5 separate regions of the Homo sapiens genome follow, and all the other regions are linked to region 5. Evidence: promoter capture Hi-C in 16 types of primary human blood cells and fetal thymus (Javierre and others, 2016). All regions are on one chromosome and are shown on one strand. The core of a region is centred on a gene start or on the middle of the fragment in contact, and the rest is flanking DNA. Distances in the headings are between cores, read along the strand shown.

What was found. The method cuts DNA at HindIII sites, captures the fragments that hold promoters and counts their contacts. A CHiCAGO score of 5 or more calls a contact.
Region 1: a fragment that was not itself captured here is called in contact with the fragment with the promoter of SMU1 in region 5 in 1 of 17 cell types (total B cells); the score reaches 5.3 in total B cells.
Region 2: a contact is called between a fragment that was not itself captured here and the fragment with the promoter of SMU1 in region 5, in 5 of 17 cell types (naive B cells, total B cells, monocytes and 2 more). The highest score is 10.6, in naive B cells.
Region 3: a fragment that was not itself captured here is called in contact with the fragment with the promoter of SMU1 in region 5 in 17 of 17 cell types (M2 macrophages, total B cells, total CD8 T cells and 14 more); the score reaches 37.1 in M2 macrophages.
Region 4: a fragment that was not itself captured here is called in contact with the fragment with the promoter of SMU1 in region 5 in 2 of 17 cell types (total B cells and M0 macrophages); the score reaches 6.2 in total B cells.

The regions. Positions count from the first base shown.
Region 1 is chr9:33,327,881-33,330,580 of GRCh38, reverse strand. NFX1 (nuclear transcription factor, X-box binding 1) reads right to left here. Exons shown (of 24, transcript NM_002504.6): 10 at 1,903-2,000. Among named protein-coding and RNA genes, the nearest start is that of NFX1, 39 kb to the right of the region's middle. The HindIII fragment of the contact is 7,999 bases long and covers 1-2,700 here.
Region 2 is chr9:33,285,378-33,288,077 of GRCh38, reverse strand. No RefSeq gene overlaps it. Among named protein-coding and RNA genes, the nearest start is that of NFX1, 3.8 kb to the left of the region's middle. The HindIII fragment of the contact is 404 bases long and covers 1,115-1,518 here.
Region 3 is chr9:33,219,777-33,222,476 of GRCh38, reverse strand. No RefSeq gene overlaps it. Among named protein-coding and RNA genes, the nearest start is that of SPINK4, 19 kb to the left of the region's middle. The HindIII fragment of the contact is 3,336 bases long and covers 1-2,700 here.
Region 4 is chr9:33,309,152-33,311,851 of GRCh38, reverse strand. NFX1 (nuclear transcription factor, X-box binding 1) reads right to left here. Exons shown (of 24, transcript NM_002504.6): 6 at 675-746. Among named protein-coding and RNA genes, the nearest start is that of NFX1, 20 kb to the right of the region's middle. The HindIII fragment of the contact is 1,730 bases long and covers 523-2,252 here.
Region 5 is chr9:33,075,309-33,078,008 of GRCh38, reverse strand. SMU1 (SMU1 DNA replication regulator and spliceosomal factor) reads left to right here and starts at 1,335. Exons shown (of 12, transcript NM_018225.3): 1 at 1,335-1,426. The coding sequence starts at 1,401. RefSeq lists enhancers at 954-1,153, 1,324-1,473. The HindIII fragment of the contact is 3,581 bases long and covers 1-2,378 here.

The sequences.
Region 1 (2,700 bases), core at 51-2,550, 250 kb before region 5:
CATCTCTGGGCATTACTAAATTTATGATTGCCAAATCACAGCATCTCAGTCTTTAATACAGTATTTACAAAGTACAAAAGTGGTCCCATACCTGACATTCAAAAATGCCTCTGTTATCCTATGTATATTGTAATTTCTTTCAGGAAAAAACCCATATATGATTACACAACTTTTGTAACATGTAAATTATACTACTTTTCCCTTTTTTCTGAAGTTTTCCTATTAAACTAGCTTCCCATTTATGGACTATATCCTCAGAATTATTCGCAAGTCAGATGCTGCCAGACCCTGCATTGTGTTTAACAGAACCAACGGTTCACAATTCTGTCTCCACCCTGGCTTGTACTCTACTGGGACAAATGTTGATATACACTAAAATGACTAAGTAGGTCAAAGAGCAGGATAAATCAACACTCAGTGTGTTCCCCAAGCTGAATCACCCGAAGACTTTTTATAACATAAAGTCTGATGAAAACTATCCAAGGTAGGCTGGGCACAGTGGCTCACGTCTGTAATCCCAGCATTTTGGGAGGCTGAGGCGGGTAGATTACCTGAGGTCAGGAGTTCAAGACCAGCCTGGCCAACATGGTGAAACCCCACCTCTACTAAAAATACAAAAATTAGCCAGGAGTGGTGGTGCACACCTGTAATCCCAGCACTTTGGGAGGCTGAGGCAGGAGGATCACTTGAGGTCAGGAGTTTGAGACCAGCCTGGCCAACATGGCAAAATCCCGTCTCTACTAAAAATACAAAAATTAGCCGGGTGTGATGGCATGCACCTGTAATTCCAGCTACTCCAGAGGCTAAGGCATAAGAATCACTTGAATCTGGGAGGTGGAGGCTGCAGTGAGCCAAGACTGCGCCTCTGCACTCCATCCTGGGTGATGGAGTGAGACTCTGTCTCAAAATAAATAAATAAAATTAAAAAAAAAAAAAGAAAAATAAAAACCATCCAGGCTTTCACCAGAAAGTAGAAACTGACAAAACAGATGTACAGTGAAGAATTAAACCTTACTTAAAGAGAGTCTGGCCTTTGTGCTTGGCTTCTGAGAGGTAATCTCTAAGCCTAGTGGAATGCCATGCCTGATATAAGTGTCATTGTTTGCCTGGAGTCTTGAGTCACTGGATAGTCCAATTACGTGATTTAGGAGCAGGCTGGCCACACTGGATAGTTTTAGGGCAGGGGTTTTGGGTCACATGGTATCGGTACACCTCGGGAGAGACTGGAGACTGAGATTAGCCACATGGGCAGTCAACTATGATTGCACAATAGAGCACCAATAAAAACTGAACACACAGGTCTGGGTGAACTTTCCTGGTTGGCAATATTCCATGTATGCTGGCACACACTGAAGCGGAGAGAGTAATACTTTCCTGACTCCACAGGGAAAGGACAAATGAAGTTCCACCTTTGGTATTTTTTTGGACTCTGTCCTACATACTTCTTCCCTTGGCTGATTTAATCTGTATCCTTTTCCTTGTAATAAAACTGTAACCTCCTTGTAGTAAAGCTCTAACCATGAGTGTAACCACCAGCAAGTTCGGTGAGTCCTTTTATCAAATTATCAAGCCTCGCAGGTGGTCTTAGGGACCACTGAACTTTCAATTGGTATCAAAAGTTGGTGCCACAAGTGGGTGGTCATATGGACTGTGTTTCCTCTAACTTCTTAGTTGGCTGACTCCTTGCAACAGTGCTACTGTTCCCCTTTTCAGACTATCACACCTGTATTTGGTAGAGTGATCTGTATATTTGCCTTATCCCACTATAGGCCTCTGGACCTTGAGTGCCACAACCACTTCCCATACCTAATCTACTGAGGTTATTTTGATTCCTCCCCTCCCATAATCACCATTTTAAAGAAAACATTGATGGCAACAACTCTAGCATTGTTTAGGATTTACCTTTGTTCTGAAAGAGCATCTGCAGGAAATAACTGATGTGCGAGAGCATGGTCCACAGTCTCCTTCATGGCAGAGCTTTTCACAGGTATGAATGAAATCTTTAATAAAAACGAAAAGAGCTGGAAATGAAAACTGCAACTACTCATTTTCATACTCCCAAATTTGCTAGCCACACTGGTCTTCCCCTCCATGCCCTGCAACTCCAGAATCAGAGTTGAGGGAAGTATGCAGTCAATGCTTCTTCCCTATCTTCCCTTCATCTGGCAGACTGGGCCTTTTCTGACAACTTCAGGGCCCAGCTTAGACACTGGAATATGCTTTAAAGTATACGACGATTTGCCTAAGTCAAAAAAAGGCCAAGTGTGGTGGCTCATGCCTATAATTCCAGCACTTTGAGAGGCTGAGGTGGGAGGATCGCTTGACCCCAGGAGCTCGAGATCACCTGGGAACATGGTGAAACCCTGTGTCTACCAAAAAAAAAAAAAGCACAAAAACAAGAAATTAGCCAGGAGTGGTGATGCAGGCCTACAGTCCCAGCTACTCAGGAGTCTGAGGTGGGAAAATCTCCTGAGCATGGGACGTTGAGGCTACAGTGAACTGTGATCGCACCACTGAACTCCAGTCTAGGTGACAGAGCAAGACCCTGTTTCAAAACAAATAACAAAAACACAGAATAAATCTTCTTTTTCCTCAGGCCCCACATCTCCAGTGTAGACTTGAATCTCCCTAAAACTGTAGCCATGGATGACTTTAGTGGAATGCTGTCGACTCTGAAAGTCATCTGGGGATTATAAATAA
Region 2 (2,700 bases), core at 67-2,566, 210 kb before region 5:
GGGTTTCATCCTGTTGGCCAGCTGGTCTTGAACTCCTGACCTCAGGTGATCCACCCACCTAGGCCTCCCAAAGTGTTGGGATTACAGGCGTGAGCCACCGTGCCGGGCCAAACATTTAATGATGGTCTTTTGAGTTTCCTCCTTTTAAAACTGCTTATCCATATCCACTGCCCATTTTTCTTCCTGATGGTTTCTTGTATATTACAGGTGTCACTCGTCAGTTTTAGACATTTAAATTGTCTTCTATTCCATTAAATATTAATTTTGTCCTTTGTTGAACATAAATCCTTAATTTTGACAGCTCATCAAACTTTATAGTCACCTTTAAAAATTACCAGGTGTATCAGTCTGGGTCCAATCAGGAGAGAAGAACCCCACTTTTTGAACAGGAATTACATTTTTTTAATAAGGAAAGTTTTATTTAAAGATTTATTAAGTATAATAGGGGGTTGGAATAATAATGGATTGGCTAGTAAAGAAGCAAGATAATTCCAAAACAGGATTACCATATATAAAGAGCAGCTAGGGCTGAGGTAAGAGTGTCAAAGAAGAGCCGAGACCAGAGCTGGCCTGCAGACCTCGTTAGAGAAAAGACCTGTGGCTCACTGGATGGCATGGAAGTTGCCAGACATTTTTCTTACGGAGTGCTGGTTGAAGCCATTCTTGGGGAGGTGTCTCACCAGAGGTACTCTACTACAAACCATCTGCGGGGAGTGCTAGGAGAAGTTTCTGACAACTGGTCACTATATAGTGCGATAGCCAGGCACTGAAGAAGCCAGTGCATTGCAGAAGCCATTGAAGAAGTTGCCCAGACTACAGAAGCCTGCCCCACTGAAATCAGAAACAGGAGCCAAAACCCTTTTCCTCCTGCAGTATCTCTCCAGTGCCCTCTGCTGACAAGGTTTAATATCTGCCAGCTGGCAAAGAATAAATAAAAGGCCGAAATCCATTTCACAGAGCAAGCAAAAACAATAAATGTAGAACTGAAAGCAAATTCATAATTGGCACTCTACAGAATCTACTCATTATTTTCAAAACTTGTGAATAAATGAAAGTAAGCAAGCATTTATCTTGCCTTTCCTATACAAACTATTTCATGCAACATACTAAAGCTTATGGCAGGTGGTGAAAGCTGCAGGTGGTGAAAGATGGAAATATATAGCTGTAAACACTTATATTTGAAAAAGAACTCCAGATAATGGAATATTATTCAGTGCCCAAAACAAATGAAGCCAGCATGTTGGTGTTTACCTGTAGTCTCAGATACTTGGGAGGCTGAGGCAAGAGGATTGTCTGAGCCCAGGTGATTTCAAGCCCAACCTGGGCAACATAGCGAGATACTATCAAAAAACAAACAAACAAAAAATACCCAAAGACCAGGCATGGTGGCTCATGCCTGTAATCTCAGCACTTTGGGAGGCCAAAGCAGGTGGATCGCTTGAGTCCAGGAGTTCGAGACCAGCCTGGGCAACATGGCGAAACCCAGTCTCTACCAAAAATACAAAAATTAGTCAAGCTTGGTGGTGCATACCTGTAGTCCCAGTTACACAGGAGGCTGAAGTGGGAGGATCACTTGAGCCCAGGAGGCGGAGGCTGCAGTGAGCCAAGATTGCACCACAGCACTCCAGCCTGGGTGACAGAGCGAGATCCTGTCTCAAAAACACCAAACAAGACAAAAAATCCCAAATCCATATGAACTATCAAGCCATGAAAAGACATGGAGAAAACTTAAATGCATATTGCTAAGTGAAAGAAGGCAATCTGGAAAGACCATTTACTATTTGATTCCAACTATGTAACAGTCTGGAAAAGGCAAAATTATAGAGACAGTAAAAAGATCAGTGGTTGACAGGAGTTAAAGGGGAGAGAAGGATGAATAGGCAGAGTACAGAGGACTGCTAGGGTAGTGAACTATTGCTAGGGCAGTGAACTATTCTGCATGATACTACAAAGGGGGATACATGTCATTATATTTGTTAAAACCCATAGAATCACTAGCATGGCGGCTCATGCCTGTAATCCCAGCACTTTGGGAGGCCAAGGCGGATGGATCGCCTGAGCCCAGGAGTTCAAGACCAGCCTGGGTAACGTGGTGAAACCCCATCTCTACTAAAAATACAAAAATTAGTTGGGCATGGTAGCATGCGCCTGAGGTCCCAGCTACTCAGGAAGCTGAGGTGGGATCACTTGAGCCCGGGAGGCGGAGGTTGTGGTGAGCTGAGATCATGCCACTGCACTCCAGCCTGGGTAACACAGTGAGACCCCATCTCAAGCAAAAAACAACAAAAAACCCCATAGAATGTACATCAAGAGTGAACCCTAATGTAAACTATAGACTTCGTGTGATAATAATGTGTCAGTGTAGATTCACTGATTGCAACATACCACCGTGGTGAGGGAAGCTGATAGCGGGAAGGTTGTGTGTTATATGGGAGCTCTCTGTGTTTTCCACTCAATTTGTTGTGAACCCAAAACTCTAAAAAAATAAAGTTTATTAATAAAAAAGAAGAAAAATTGCAAATCAATAGCCTAAACTTCCACCTTAAGAAATTGGAAAAAGAATAACAGGGCTGGGGTGGGGGTGGTTCACACCTGTAATCCCAGCACTTTGGGAGGCCAAGGCGAGAGGATCGCTTGAGGCTAGGAGTTTCAGACTAGCCTGGGCAACATAGTGATACCCCATCCCTACTAAAAATTGAA
Region 3 (2,700 bases), core at 147-2,646, 140 kb before region 5:
CCACTGTACTACAGCCTGGGTGACACAGTGACACTCCATCTCAAAATATATATGTACATATTAATAACCTATACCTTTTGCAAATCACCTTCAAATGCCATTAATTTGTTCATTAATTTGCTCAAACAAACTGCTGAGCATCCTCCATGCTAGGGAGTACGGCTACAAAGACTACGTGTCCCAGTAGCCCCCAGACTAGTCAGGGAGCAGATGTGGGCAGACTGTGCTGGCACCTGGGACAACGGCTGAGCCAGGTGTTCAGGAAATGATGGATGAAGTGATTAATTCTGACATCAGCACTCTGATAATCTTCACAGAACAAGCAAGACCTCATCTGAGCCTAGAAATAAGCCTGGGTCCCTTCCATCTTTGCAGTATCAGGAGCTTGTTAGAAATGCAGAATGTCCTGACCTAGAACTCCCAAATCAGGACTTAGGCTGTGGCAAGATCCCTGGGTGATCCTTATGCGCATTCACGTTTGAGAGGCGCTGACTTAAAATAGCGGGCTTTCTGACAAGAATGTAAACAGAACCAAAATATACTTCTGTGTGGGGTATTGGTCAAAGGCTGACCTAGTGGGCTCCATACTAGGCCAGGCAGACAGAATACAAAGATAGGGTATAGAAAGACTGGTAGTGGCAACAAGTGAAGTGTCTTCTCTCCTGTCCTGGCCCTCACCTAACAAGGACTGTGATTCAGCAGGTTAGACTGCAGATATGCAGTGTGGAGGGAGCAAGGACAGGCAACGAGGCCACCCCTGTGGTCCCTTCTGCCTAGATGTCTGCCGTGACTGGCTCAGTGTAATGGGTATGGCTCGGAGGAAGGGAGCAGGGCATGAGGGAAGGATGCTTCCCATTACCCTCATCTAGAGACACCACCTCTGCTGTGGACCAGGTAAGTGACAGGCCACAGGGGCTCGGAGCCCAGGGCTCTGTGTGAAGAATTTTTGGCCTCTTCCTCTTCCTCTTGATCTTCAACACTGGTCACAAGAGGAAGCGCAGGGAGGGTTCAGGGCAGCCTGACCCTTCAGGAAGCAGACACATTTAGGGCCAGTGTGCCTGGAGGGTTCAGGGCGGCCTGACCTATCAGGAAGCACACACAATACCCTTGCCTGGGACTGGACCTGGGCCCAGACCTGGGCCCTGCTGGCCTCGGTGAGACTGTGGGCAGGTTGGGCCTTGGGAAGGGACCTTGGGAAGGGGCCTTGGTGAGGACCTAAGAGAAGCCCCTTCTCACAGACTTGGGCCTGTGATGGGTAGAGAGTGGCTAGCCCAGGTGGGGAGTAACTACGAGGGAAGGAAACTGAAAACCGCAACATCAATAACCACAGCACAACAAAACTAAATATAAAGAGATCCCAACACCCACCTGACAGCAGTTTCCCTGCCCCTGCCTCTGGAAGACGGTCTGTGTGCGAAGCATCCCCCAGCAGGGACCATATGTGTGTGCCCTCCAGAGTCCAGAGAAGGTGAGGTGAGCTCCCAATGCCCAGGATCATCAGGATGTAGACTTCTTGCTATTCTACCTAAACAAATAAATCAGACAGGAATCTCGCTAGTAGAGATGGCATTTCACATAGAGGGGAGGGCCCAAGGAAAGGCCCAAAGGCAGGACCACACTCATCCGGATAGGAAGACAAATGTCAACGTATACGTCTCTCTCCTATCCTGATTGAGCTGGCACTACTGTGTTTTCCAGTCTGAGGACACCAGTCACAACCTGTGCATATCACGGTGATAGAGTCACGTGGTTGCTCCTCAAGAACTGGGCTAGTTTGGACTCAACTTGTCTTCCAGCAGCCCACTGCACAGTGGCCCAACCTGGCCTCAGCTGGAAGACTAAGTACTCCCCATATCTCTACAACAGTTGCTCAGGACAATTCAGCTGGATCCACTGAAGCAGTCCCACTCCTAGAGGCAGCCCTCATCAGAAGGGTCTCTGCCTCCTGCTTTCTGAAGGGTTAACTCCAAGAGTCAACCAGGCCAAGGCATATCTGGAGACAGATTCCTTGGTTGGGACTTGCCAGGGTCAGTCTCATTTGTTTCTGATAACGTGAGCATAACATAATGTGTGTGTTTTCTTAAAAAACAACATAAGGCTAGGTGTGGTGGCTCAGGCCTGTAATCCCAGCACTTTTGGAGGCTGAGGTGGATGGATCACTTGAGGCCAGGAGTTTGAGACAAGCCTGACCAATGTGGTGAAACCCCGTCTCTACTAAAAATACAAAAATTAGCTGGGCGTGGTGGTGTGCACCTGTAATGCCAGCTACTCAGGAGACTGAGGCAGGAGAATTGCTTGAACCCGGGAGGTGGAGGTGGCAGTGAGCCGAGATCTCACCACTGCACTCCAGCCAGGGTGACAGAGTGAGACCCTGCCTCAAAAAGAAAAAAAAATAAAGCAAAAATAAAAAACAAAATAAGCAGGTTGGTGTTCCATGTAAGTCTGAAAGTCTGAATCTGCTAAGGAGTGTGTAACAATTGACCTGCCAAAAAAAAAAAAAAAACCGGAAAGGAAAAAGAGGCTGGGCATAGTGGCTCACACTTGTAATCACTTTGGGAGGCTGAAGTGTGCGGATCGCTTGAGCCCAAGAGTTTGCCACCAGCCTGGGCAATATAGGGAGACCCATCTCTACAAAATATATTTTAAAAAATTAGCCACATGTATTGGCATGCACCTGTGGTCCCAACTACTTGGGAGGCT
Region 4 (2,700 bases), core at 138-2,637, 230 kb before region 5:
CGACCGAGCGCGGTAGCTCATGCCTGTAATCCCAACACTTTGGGAGGCCGAGGCGGGTGGATCACGAAGTCAATAGTTCAAGACCAGCCTGGCCAAGATGGTGAAATCCCATCTCTACTAAAAATACAAAAACTAGCCAGGTGCGGTGGCAGGCGCCTGTAATCCCAGCTACTTGGGAGGCTGAGGCAGGAGAATTGCTTGAACCCAGGCAGCAGAGGTTGCAGTGAGCCGAGATCGCACCACTGCACTCCAGCATGGGTGACAGACCGAGACTCCGTCTCAAAAAAAAAAAAATCCTTGTCACTTTGGTATTTTACCCGAAATAATGGGTAGTCTCACAATCTCATTGTGCATATAACTTCTTAATCACTTATAAGATTACAAAATAGGGTCATGGGCAGCACAGGGAACTACTAGTTACAGAAAAGTACTATCCATGGCACATTTGGTCTCTCAAGTTGCCCACTTGGCTCTCTTCCAAGTTGTACTTTCCTTCTGTCCTTTCCTTCCTGTTCTAAAGCTTTTTAATAAACTTTCACTCCTGAAAAAAAAAAAGTACTATTCATGCCTACCATTTATTTGTATCTACCTACTATTCTTTTATTTCAGAAATTCACAAGTCAATCATGCATGTGAAAACTGAGGTCTTCTTTAGGGTGTAATTTTAACTTTACCTGGTTCGTCCACATTCACATGTTTTTGTCATAAAGGCAGGGCAGGGTGGGCAGGGTCCTGGATGGCAGAGACTGAAAGAGAAAGGTTTCACTGAATAAACCACAGCCATGTATCCAAACCCGAACAAAGCTGTCCCAGCTGGGTCTTATTGTGAATATGGCAACAAATACATCTACTATGACATGTCTTTGTATTTGTTTAAAGTTGATTAAACTATTTGAACAAAGATATCAACTGTACTTTTATGTGCAAAAAATCGACATCATTATCACCACAGACTATTTAACCACAGAAGTAAATCCCAAGTCAAAATACTGGTTATATTTGGGTCTGAGAGTCAAAGATGACATTTTCAAATACAGTCTTGGCCCACTTACAGCAGTGTGTGGGGATAAAAATAGTTTGCTACTCAGGTAAAAGGCAGAATGGCTAATAGGGTCCTGTAGAAGATCAGAGTCTAAGCAAAGTAATAGAACTCAAATCTACCTGGTCCGTAAGAAGTACAGACATACTATCAGCTAGTGAAGTAATAATCAGGCACTGGGCAAACAATGGAACAGTGAAAAGAAGGCTGACATGAGGGGAGGCATGCTAGTGAGTAACATGGAGAGAATGAAAGGGAAGGGGGTCATGGAAAGAACTGGGCTGAGTGATATGCTATAGGTCAGAATTAGCCCTCTGAAAAATGCTATTTTAGGAGCTATATTATAGAGACCAATAGAAAAAAGTTACAATACGGAATTTGTATATTCAAATATATACTGCCCTCTTCAAAGCAGACACTTTGGCAAATTACACAGTGGTACAGAAATACCACTACTTAAAACATTTTGGGAACTTCTACGACAACTGTTTTTGGAGTAGGAGGGGTATATTCTAGGTGGCAAATTACAACCCTTTGGGAATCAAAAGCCAATCAGAGCCAAGACTAATTAATCAGATGGGTAACAGAATTTGCTGTAAAACATTAGTGTGCTTATAAAGTGGTCTGGCTGGAATGTTTAGTTTCTATGAAACTCCTAAACAAGCTCTGATAATTCTTAAATAAAGTTTAAACATTGAAAACAATCCAGGAACAAGTGTCTAGTCTTCTAAGATGACTCATTTTGATAGACAATACCCATAGGAGACATAAGTTTAAGCATGTTTCTTTAAAGATGAGTATCATTATTCAACAGTTATATTTTATATATACCTCAATCCTTTCGGGTGAAACAATTTTCATTGCTTGTCAGGTGTGGGTGATTCTAGGTTATGTCAAATATCTCAGAAGCCTGGACTCAATCTCCTCAATCTCAGGTTTTCTTAACTTTTAGACCAGAGGTCCACAACACTGGCTATATATTGGAAGTGCCTGGAGAGCTTTTAAAAATATTGATGTTCACACCAGGCATGGTGGCTCATGCCTGTACTCTCAGCACTTTGGGAGGCTGAGGTGGGAGGATCGCTTGAGCCCAGGAGTTCAAGGGTGCAGTGAGCTACGATAGCACCACTGCACTCAAGCCTGGGCAACAGAGCGAGACCCTGTCTCTGTCACTTTTGAGTCCTAACAAGTGTAAATGAGAGAAAGCAAAGCTTTCTTGGAGACCAGAAAAGTGCTACTGGGGAATGGGCTTCTATGGTCCTGAAAGTAAAAGAAAGTTCCCAAGTCAAGTGTGAAAGCTCCAGAGCCACAAAAGAGCAGGAGCAGGTTTTAAGGTGTTCTTTTCTTTCAGACATGGTGCTGATCACTTGATCTGCAACAGTTTTAATCTCTGGTAGTCATGAAGGGTTTGGAAAAATAGTCCATGCAGAGGATTAAGTTTTTTTTTTTTTTCTCTGAGACGGAGTCTTGCTCTGTAGCCCAGGCTGGAGTGCAGTGGCATGATCTCGGCTCACTGCAACCTCCGCCTCCCGGGTTCACGCCATTCTCCTGCATCAGCCTCTCCAGTAGGTGGGACTACAGGTGCCCACCACCACACCCGGCTAATTTTTTATATTTTTAGTAGAGACAGGGTTGCACCGTCTTAGCCAGGATGGTCTCGA
Region 5 (2,700 bases), core at 86-2,585:
GCTAGTGTTATGTTGGTTTTGAATGTATTAATATCCCATCAGGTATTGCATATTCAGCCTCATCTTAAATCTAATCAACTAATTACATCAAACGAAAGCAACATTGGCTGGGCGCAGTGACTCACGCCTGTAATCCCAGCACTTTGGGAGACCGAGGCGGGCGGATCACGAGGTCAGGAGTTCGAGAACAGCCTGACCAACATAGTGAAATCCCATCTCTACTAAAAATACAAAAAATTAGCCTGGCGTGATGGCAAGAAACCTGTAATCCCAGCTACTCCGGAGGCTGAGGCAAGAGAATCTCCTGAACCCGGGAGGCAGAGTTTGCAGTGAGCCGAGATCGCGCCATTGTGCTCTTCAGCCCGGGCGACAGTGCGAGATTCCGTCTCAAAAAAAAAGCAATCTTTCCAAACCAGTGCTCTTTCTTTTCTTTCTTTTCTTTTCTTTCTTTTCTTCTTTCTTTTCTTTGCTTTTCTTACTACAATCTTATCACCACTACTTTTCTTTTCTTCTTTTGAGACGGAATTTTGCTCTCCTTGCCCAGGCTGGAGTGCAATGGTGTGATCTCGGCTCACCGCATCCACCTCCAGAGGTGAAACGATTCTCCTGCCACAGACTCCCGAGTAGCTGAGATTACAGGCGCCCCCGCCACCACGCCCGGCTAATTTTTTGTATTTTTAGTAGAGACGGGGCTTCACCATGTTGCCCAGGCTGGTCTCGAACTCGCGCGCTGGGAGTACAGGCGCGAGCCACCGCGCTCCGCCCCAGCGCTTTTCTTTTTCAGTACATTTGTGAGCTGTATGGCGCCCGGTGCTTTTTTTCTTTTTCTTTTCTATCTTTCTTTTTTTTTTTTTTTTTTTTTTGAGACGGAGTTGCGCTCTTGTTTTCCATGCTGGGGTGCAATGGCGCGATCTCGGCTCACCGCAACCTCCGCCTCCTGGGTTCAAGCGATTCTCCTGCCTCAGGCTCCCGAGTAGGGATTACAGGCATGCGCCACTACGCCCGGCTAATTTTGTATTTTTAGTAGAGACGGGGGTTTCTCCATGTTGGTCAGGCTGGTCTCGAACTCACGACCTCAGGTGATCGCCCGCCTCGGCCTTCCAAAGTGTTGGGATTACAAGCGTGAGCCACCGCACCCGGCTCCGGCCTGCTTTTAAACAGTCTTCCTCCTGATGCGTATTTCTCTGGGGCAGGGGCATAAACTCCGCCCTCTGACAGCCCCTGAGGGCTCCGCCCCTACGCGAACCTCGCCCCTACTCTTCGTTCACTCTATCTCCAGAGCGGGAGCCAGACGCCGACCCAAGCGGAAGTGACGTTAGGTGTCCGCCGGAGGTGTCGTTGGTGTGTTGCGCGACTGGCCTTGAGGGAGAGCTGGGGCCTGCTCCCGGAGAGATACGGCTATGTCGATCGAAATCGAATCTTCGGAGTGAGTCCTGCGGTGGGGATGTTCGCGCCTTGCCGGGGGCCTGGAGGTTAAGGGTGTGGGGCGGAGGGTACTCGGGAGAAGGCATCCGAGAGGCCAGGGAGTGGAGGGCCATTTCCTTGCCCCCAAAGAAGCATCTTGGATCTCGCTACCTCGGAGGTGGGCCCACAGGAAAGTAGCAGCTCTCAGACGTGAAGCCCAAAACCTCGAGGGAGGTGGCACGGGTGGGGAAAACACACCTTGCAGACCTAAGTTCTGTCCTTGGCCGACTGCTGGCGCGCTGTGATTGACCAAATTAAGGATCCACTCTGGACTCCAGTCTAATTATCTGCGCAAGGGGATAGGTCTCTTTAAGCCTTGCTTCTCTCCCTGTCCAGCTTATGCAATGTGATTCGTTGTCTCTGCTTATACGGCCCCTTTGCTTTTCTCTGCCTAGCGTTTATCACTCAGTATTGTCACTGTTTGATAACCTCACCCCAAACTAGCCTTTGTCGGTGCCTAGGAGCTCCTTTTCCTTGTGGTCTCAGTGTCTAGCATACCTTAGAGGAAGAGTTAATTGCTTTTGGAATGAATGAACAACTAGCTTTTGGAATGAATGAACAACTATCAGGCCCGATCTGGCACGGAATTTTGGGTTGTCTGGGGAGAGACAGACTGGAGACTGGGCTAGAAAGAAAAATTTTCAAGGAATAGGGGATGAGAATTAGTGACTAAAGAAGACCTTAGTGTGCTTTTCCAGAACTCCATCCTCCACCTGTCCTTGCCAACACTTAATAATAATTAAATTAACAGACATAAAAATTGTGTCTGAGTGTAAGGGAGGGAGAGGACCTTTTTTGGAGACTTTTCATAGGAGGAAGGGAGGTTTATGCATTCAGCAAATACTGAAATGATGTTAACCTACTTGTCCAAGGTCACATAACTTTGATTCAAATCCCAGACTATCTTCAAAGCTTCTAGCTCTTTATGTATTCATTTCTGTTTGAAGGTAGGGAATTTGATTTTGGCTATGTCAAATGTGAGCTGTTTGAGGAGAGAGATGACTTATTTTGGGAGTGTAAAATGGAAGTCAACGGACATGTGCTAAGGAAGATAGTATCATAGCAGAATAACAGGGGTCTAAGTCTGGATACCTGCATACCTCATAAAGGGGCCATGAGAGAAAAAGACTACTGCAGGTAGCAGCAATCAGTTCCCTTTTTTTTTTTTGAGACGGAGTCTCACTCTGTCACCCAGGCTGGAATGCAGTGGCGCGATCTCCGCTCACTGCAAGCACC